2 separate regions of the Homo sapiens genome follow, and region 1 is linked to region 2. Evidence: promoter capture Hi-C in human tissues and cell types (Jung and others, 2019). All regions are on one chromosome and are shown on one strand. The core of a region is centred on a gene start or on the middle of the fragment in contact, and the rest is flanking DNA. Distances in the headings are between cores, read along the strand shown.

Evidence for each region. The method cuts DNA at HindIII sites, captures the fragments that hold promoters and counts their contacts. A contact is called where the count stands out against the background at its distance.
Region 1: a contact is called between a fragment that was not itself captured here and the fragment with the promoter of GHR in region 2, in 1 of the 25 tissues and cell types used here (heart left ventricle).

What each region holds. Positions count from the first base shown.
Region 1 is chr5:41,873,761-41,877,519 of GRCh38, reverse strand. It overlaps LOC102723752 (a long non-coding RNA gene), which reads right to left. Exons shown (of 3, transcript XR_925956.4): 2 at 125-266. Among named protein-coding and RNA genes, the nearest start is that of OXCT1, 5.2 kb to the right of the region's middle. The HindIII fragment of the contact is 7,449 bases long and covers 1-3,759 here.
Region 2 is chr5:42,420,971-42,424,688 of GRCh38, reverse strand. It overlaps GHR (growth hormone receptor), which reads right to left and starts at 1,250. Exons shown (of 10, transcript NM_000163.5): 1 at 734-1,250. RefSeq lists promoters at 1-45, 210-557, 210-978, 1,176-1,276, 886-1,458 and 1 more, cis regulatory regions at 1,081-1,121, 1,459-1,967 and an enhancer at 1,105-1,254. The HindIII fragment of the contact is 10,174 bases long and covers 1-3,318 here.

The sequences.
Region 1 (3,759 bases), core at 299-2,798, 550 kb after region 2:
ATACTTGGTTTGGGTTACTTTATTGTGAAAAAGATTTAACCAAATGGAATATTCACAAGGGAAGAAAATAATAATGAGGGAAACAGGGACCATTTGAAAGAGGGAAGTACAATTTGTAACTCACTATTTGACTATTTTCTTCATGTACTTCAATGACAGGTTATCTGTGGGGAGAAGACAGTTACAGGCACAGCAAAGCATGAGGCTGGATACAGGAACTGTGTTAGAGAAGAAAGGCCAAAGGATGATGGTGAGCACAAAGTAAGCTGTAAAAGACAATGAAAATGTAAATAATTACTACTATCACATCATGATTAGAAAGAAAGTATTCAATTTAAAGAGCTGAGCTGAGAGACACAGGTTAAGTTCATGGCTTGTATTAAGGCAGCAAAAAAGGGTTACCCAAGTCAAGTCAACACAACTGATATTTGTTGAACTGCTCTATGCTTAAAAGAAATCCTAGGACACTATAGATACAAAAATGAACAAAACTTAATAAGCTCATAATCCAGGTGACCAAGGGCCCTGAGAGCACAAAGTAAAAGAATATAGTTTTTTAAGAGGTGGAATTCGGAGTGTGAACAGTCAAGGTACACAGAGGAGTGACATTTGATCTGAGTCTTGAAAGAGGAGTAGGAGTTTGCTCAGCTGGCACAGAAAAAAAGGCTTTAGCAAAGGCTCCCTGTCAGAAGGTGCTTGGTATGTGCAGGGAGCAGAAAGTAGTCGAATTTAGCTAAAGCCATAATTTTCAAACATATTTAATATGAGTCACCCTTTCAAATAAAATTGTATTTAGAACCCAACATATACAATGTGTAAAAGTGGTACTTTACAGTTTAAATGCATTTTATCATTTTAATTGTGAAATATTTTCCTGTTATACATGGAAAAAATGAGAATAATGAAGCTCTTCGGAGAAGCTAAATATTGCAGCCATGGAGTTATATCTGATATTTTGCTTATTTTATTTCTGTTTGGCTGCACAATAATAAGAAAGTTCTGATTCACACTGCAGCTTGTCCCAGAATTTCAGTATATGCTTCAATTAAAGTAGATCAGAAGCTTGAAAGAAAAGTAGCAGGAAATGTTTGCTTCAGTGGTCAATAACTAATAATGTCAATTACCTCTTGTTCACATATGTAAATGTCAGACAAGATGTAGCCAAAATGGAAAATAATCTCTAAAACTATTTATAGTACAATATTATCATGAAGTGTTTTATATGCTCTTTTTGAACAACTACAATGCTGTGATAAGAAATAATTCTAGGCAGTACATGTCTCTGACCAGAGCCTCAAAGTATTATATACTTATATAAATTTAAGTGAGTCAAAATGCAGAGGTCTAAATGATAAAAAGATAAATACAGAGCTACAAACATCTTTATCAATGACATATTTTATATATTCAAATATAGGAAATTTGATGATGAGGAACCTTTAATCTAAGGTTTGTCTCCCAACTGCACAATCTGGTCTGTTTTTTTTTTTTTGTTTTTTGTTTTTTTTTTTGAGATGGAATCTCGCTCTGTCACCCAGGCTGGAGTACATGGTGCAATCTCAGCTCGCTGCAACCTTCATCTCCCAGGTTCAAGTGATTCTCCTGCCTCAGACTCCAGAGTAGCTTGGAGTACATGTGCCATATGCCAGGCTAATTTTTTATTTTTAGTAGAGATGGGGTTTCACCATGTTGGCCAGGCTGGTCTGGAACTCCTAACCTCAGGTGATCTGCCCACCTTTGCTTCCCAATGTGCTGGGATTACAGGTGTGAGCCACCATGCCCAGCCACAATCTGGTAATTTTTAATACTTTTAAATCAAAGATAGATCACAATTGAGTGTGCATGCTCCTTTTGTTAGTGTTGATAGAATAGTAAAAATGTAATCTAAAATTTAATTTCAAAATATAATGTTTGCATAGCCCCTGAAGTACCTCTGCAGAGCCCTTAAGGCCACATGATTTGTTGAGGCTAGATTAAACAAAATCTTGCCTATAATTGAATGTTGGACTTCACTTGCAGCCTTTGAGCATTTCTTGAAATATTTTAGAAAAAGATGTGAGAAGACCAGATCCTGTATTTGAAATAATAATTTTAAGTATGTTTAAATTGAGGGAGAATGGAAATTCATTTGGAAGGAAACTGAAATAATTCAGATGAGAGAAACTGAAACTGAGGCCCTGAAGTAGTGCAGAATGAGTGAAACTGGAGAGTTGGGGTAAGATTCAAAGATATCTCAGAAAGAGGGAGGTATAAAGAAATAGCAGCTTTTAATAACATATGGTCCAGGGTTTGAATCTTGCCTTATTTTTTTCAGTTTATTAAGTAAATTTTTCAGTTTACTTTATGTTTTCAGTAACCAAAGCACCTGCTGTGGTTTGAATGTGTCCTCCCCAAATTCATATGTTGACACTTAATTGCCAGTGTGATAGTATTAAGATATGGGGCTTTTCAGAGTGATTAAATCATGAGAGCTCATGAATGTGACTAGTGCCCTTATAGAAGAGGTACAAGGGAACTGTTTATGTCTTCTGCCCCTTCCATTATGTGAGGACACAGAGAAGGTATAATCTATGAGGAACAGGCTCTCATCAGACCCTTGTTAAAAGAAAAACTTTAGACAAATTAACTTTAGCAGAGTTTATTTGAGCAAAGAACAATTCATGAATCAGGCAGCACTCTGAACCAGTAGAGGTTCAGAAAGCCCCACTCAGCAATGTGAGCAGGCAGTATTTATAGGCAGAAAGAGGAATTGAGGTACAGAAACAGCTTGATTGATTATGGCCCAGCATTTGCCTTATTTGGGCACAATGCAATGTGGCATTTGCCTTATGTGGACATGGTCTTATTAGTTGGTAGTATGTGATTGGATGAAACCTGGCTGCTGTAATTAGCTGAGACTCAGCTATCTGTTACAAGAACATACTCTTAAGTAAGGTTTATTTAAACACTAACTTAGGTGCAGTTTGCTATGCAGAATTCCAAAGTATGGAAGCAGCTTTTGGCCAAATTTAATTTAATTTAACATATTCAATATGCTGGTGCCTTGATCTTGGACTTTCCAGCCTCCAGAACTGTGAGAAATACATTTCTTCTTGTAACTTACCCAGCCTAAGATATTTTGTTGTAGCAGCAAGAATGGACTAAGATAGCATCTGGGAAATAATTAATAATGTATAATCTTTTAACACCTGAATAATGCAAATATTGATCTAGAGATTACCTTACATCTTGACATTCTGTAAGCCCTGCTTAACTACTGCACCACAGAAGGCCGTATAGCTAGAGACTGCAGAGCTGAGACTTGAACCCTAGAAGCCTAACCACAGAATTCCTGCTCTTTATTATTTTGCTGTCAACACTTGATTCTGAGGTTGTGCAAATTCACTGTGTAAAAATCAAGAGGCACATATAGTTTGAAATATAAAGCAGACGTGTGGGGGAAAGGAAGACCAGAAGAGATGATCCTCTTCTATGTCATGTTATTAAGTATGAACTTTGGATCTCAAAGGCAGTGGGGAAAACCAATGACAGGTTTTAAGCAGAAATAAAGTGATCAGTCTTGAATGTATACAAGATCACTCTGGTGCATTTTACTCTTTTAGGTTTCCTTAGTATCTTATCATAATTTTCAATTTCATTCCAGGCCTTAAGCCCTCTCCAAGTATCTCATGCATTTATTTTACTTTTTTTCTGAGAAAACTACACTTTATAAAAATCAATCTATTTTTTCTTTAATCATTGAACAAATATTAAATACAC
Region 2 (3,718 bases), core at 1-2,500:
AGTTCTGTCAAAACTTTAAGCCTGGTTGATTTTACAACCACTAGTGTGTCAAAAGCTGGGGGAGGTCGGCTCGCCACAATTTCCACTTACCCCAGTTCATGCGGACTGGTGGCTGTCACTCTACTGACCCCAGTTCCATCGGTGCCAACGTGCGGCTGCGGCCCGCACAAACGCGCAAAAGACCGCGCGCTCTGCGCGCTGTGTCCACGCGCACAGCTCGACCTCCCCAGTCTCTCCAGTCGCGCTGCCGGGGATTCTTCCCCGCGCAACAGCAGCAGCCTCGGCAGTTCCTGCCGCAGCCAGGCAGATGATGGCAAACAGAAACACACTAGCAAAACTTTTATGACTTTAACAAAACTGTCTCCGGAGTAAACCCCTCCACGTACACTACTCGCGGGCCAGAGCAGACGCCAGAGTGTGATGGTTCGTCTGTCGCCCGCAACTCCCTGCCGCCCTCACCAACTTCCAGACACACACACACACACACACACACACACACACACACACACACACACACTAGATTGGGTTACAACAACCCACCAGCAGAAAACAACTTCTTCGCAAGGAGGAGGGGAGCACAGCCAAGTCATCCGGAATAAAAAATTATCCGTGTAAATATATAAGACAGATCCTCCCGTTTTCATAAACAACTAGAGTCCCAGGGTTCACCCTCAGGCCCCCTGGCACAACAGGAGGAAAATAAAGCCAGACTCCCGGAGCCCCACTCCAGTACCTCCGAGCTTCGCCTCTGATCAGAGAGCGCGGGTTCGCGTCTGCGCTGGGGCCAATGGTGCCGGGGCCTCCGGCCCGCGTGGCCCCAGCCCGGGGTCCCCGCCGCCGCCCGGGCTCAGCAGCAGCCGCCGCCGCCACCGCCACTGTAGCAGCTGCTGCTGCCGCTGCCGCCGCCGCCGCCGCTCCCTAGCCCTCCTCCTCTTCCCATGGCTGCGCCCTGCTTGGCAGCTCGCGGGCTGTCAGGCTTGGGGAGGAGAGAGGGGGCGGGGTGAAACGGGAAGGGAGGATGGGAGGGCAGGGGTGGGAAAAGGCGGCCACCGTTCACCAGGGGTCACGCCGCGCCTGGCCCGCAGTCCCCCAGATCCAGGTTGCAGAAGCGAAGGCGAAGCGGACGTTCAAGGAGGCCAGTTCGAGAACTGCTGCGGAGAGGCCGAGTGCCGCCCGGGCCAAGCATTCCGAGTTGCTGGGATGAAGTCTTCCCGGCGAGGAGCTGGAGTTGGTGCGTGTCACTCTCAACTGAGCTGCGCGGCTCCTCCTAGAGGAAAATATTGGTAGTTGCAATACACTTCCTTCCTCTCCGCCTGCCCGTTCCAAATGAAAGCAGGACCTACAAGAGCGTTAAGTGCAGTCCACAGACTCAAAGAAACACTTACAAAAAGGTTAGCTATCTCCAGGAATGAGAGGAAGATCAGCGAGATACCTTGGAAAGCGTGTTTAGCCATCCAAATATTGCCTTTCCATCAACAATCAAGTTCCAAACTCCTGCTCACTGGGGCACAGTGAAAAGATAGTTAAAACTACGAAGGACTTTATTGTGGAGGTTAGAAGACGGAGACAGAGAGAATGAGTAATTTACCAAGGACACTCAGCATGTTAGCAGAGAGGTATCTGCTAGAGGACAGGGATGCAGGGAGAGCAGACACAGGCCCCAGCCTGAAGTTCCTGAGCCAGGAAAAGGGTTTTAACTCTGCCTCACGCTGGACATAGCTCATCTGTCAAATGCGAGCCCTGCCTACTTCATTCACAAGAAGTTGTAAAAGTGTTGCAGAAAGTTAAAGTTGTGCATAAGCATGTCATTTTTGTACAGCATCAAACCCCAAGTCACTATATGCTTTTCTGAGTAGAGAGTACAAAAATCTAGCTCCAGGTTGTCTCAGATCTGAAGGAGTAGCTAGTCATGCAATCTTTCCACTATTTACTGACGGTCAATTGTAATGTCACTTACTTATAAGCTTCTAACAGCTTTGGCTTACTAAAGACTTTTTTTTTTTAACAGAGCTCCCAGACACAAACCCAAGTTTATACCCAGAAAGAAATGTTTAAACAACTTAAAGGAACCAAGTTTCTTTTCTTTAGAATAAAATATCTATAGGGCTTTGAAGTAGTACACGGGAGCCAAGACTTGAGAAGGAACAGAGGACCAAAGACTCTGGGATAGCAGATATCACATAAGATACCCCTATTTTCAAAGGAATCAGATAAGTGAAAAACTGTTCCTTAGAATGCTTTCAGAAGCTCAGCTGTGGCTCAAATACCCCAGCTGTTCCAGACAGACACCTAGAATGAACGAAAAAGGAAAGATTCTGGAAGGGGCGTGTTTTATCATGGGGTGGGATGGTTATTGATCCTGAACTGCTCTTGTTCTATGGCATCTAAAAATAAGGAGGCATTTAGTTCCCCTAAGACTCTTCCCCAAACCATTGATTTCTGGGGCTTCATACTTTGCTGGAGCAATAGTGGTGCTTGGCTGTGTCTGGAGCTTTTAAAAGGGGAGGTACCCATATAGAGAAACTTGGGAAAGTAAAAGATTAGGGCACAGTCAAGAAAAACTCCTGCTGGGTGGTCCATACCTGCCAAGCTGGCTGACAGGGTAGTCCTGGCAGGAGTAGAGACCAGACAGGCCTCAAATGCTGACTCCACGCCTGTCTGAAATGACCTTCCAAGTTGGACCTTCTTCAGAGCCTGGCACTACCAACCTCTCTGTTTATATCCTCTCTGTGCCTTCTCATCCTTTGCCCTTCTTCCCTGAGCTAGAGAATCTTGATCTAGTTTAGGAGGTGCCAGACGGAGTCATAAAAGATATTCTAAATTCTATTGTTTATGCTCTGAGATGAGCTCAGGGCCATACTTAAAAAAATAAGAATTGACTTCTTTTTTTTTTTAAATCTGGGTTCAGCAATATCCTCCATTCTGTGTGCCATGAAACTAGACTACTCTGGCTGCTGCTCTGTCTTTGATTTTTAAAAAGTCATCATGCACAGAAAACATAGGAAAAGACACCTCAGTTAATACTATAGAACTAGATATAAACCTGCAACTGACATGAAGGGCAGTCTTTATTTTTAAGCCTCGTAAGTAAAGGTCCTTCAATCTCATATATGACCAGGTATTGGTCCATAGTAGTATGTGCCTCTTTATATATTCCAAATTGTGAGGGAAAATGTAGCAGGTATTGAGTTGATTAATTTGTTATAAGTTAAGGCATGCCAGAGCACATTTACCTTCTGAAGAATGAAACTGCATTTGCTCATGGTTTCCACTCTGCTTGGAAGATCCTACTTTGTCCACCCAGAGAAATCCTTCTTAATCTTAAAGTTCCAATCAATTGTTTACTTTCTCTCTGAAGGTCTTCCTGACTATTCCCCAGGGTGGAATTAATTAATTCTCCCTGTATCAGCACCTTTATAGGCCTTTATATCTTCTTTTATTAAATATTGCAGTTTTGTTGACATGTCTGCTTTTCTCATTAATTAAGAGATTTCTGAGGGAGAAACTATATATTCTTAATATCTGTACCTGCAATGTCTAGGTTAGTGCCCAGTATTTACAGAGTTTATAAAGCGTCCAATAAATAATCAAATTGAATGAAAAGTTGTATCTCTTGGATTTATATCTCTAACCCAGATCTCTCCACAGAGCTCCAGGCTAACAACTGGGTATCTCCATTTGGATGTCTAACAGACCTCTGAAACTTGACATGTCCACA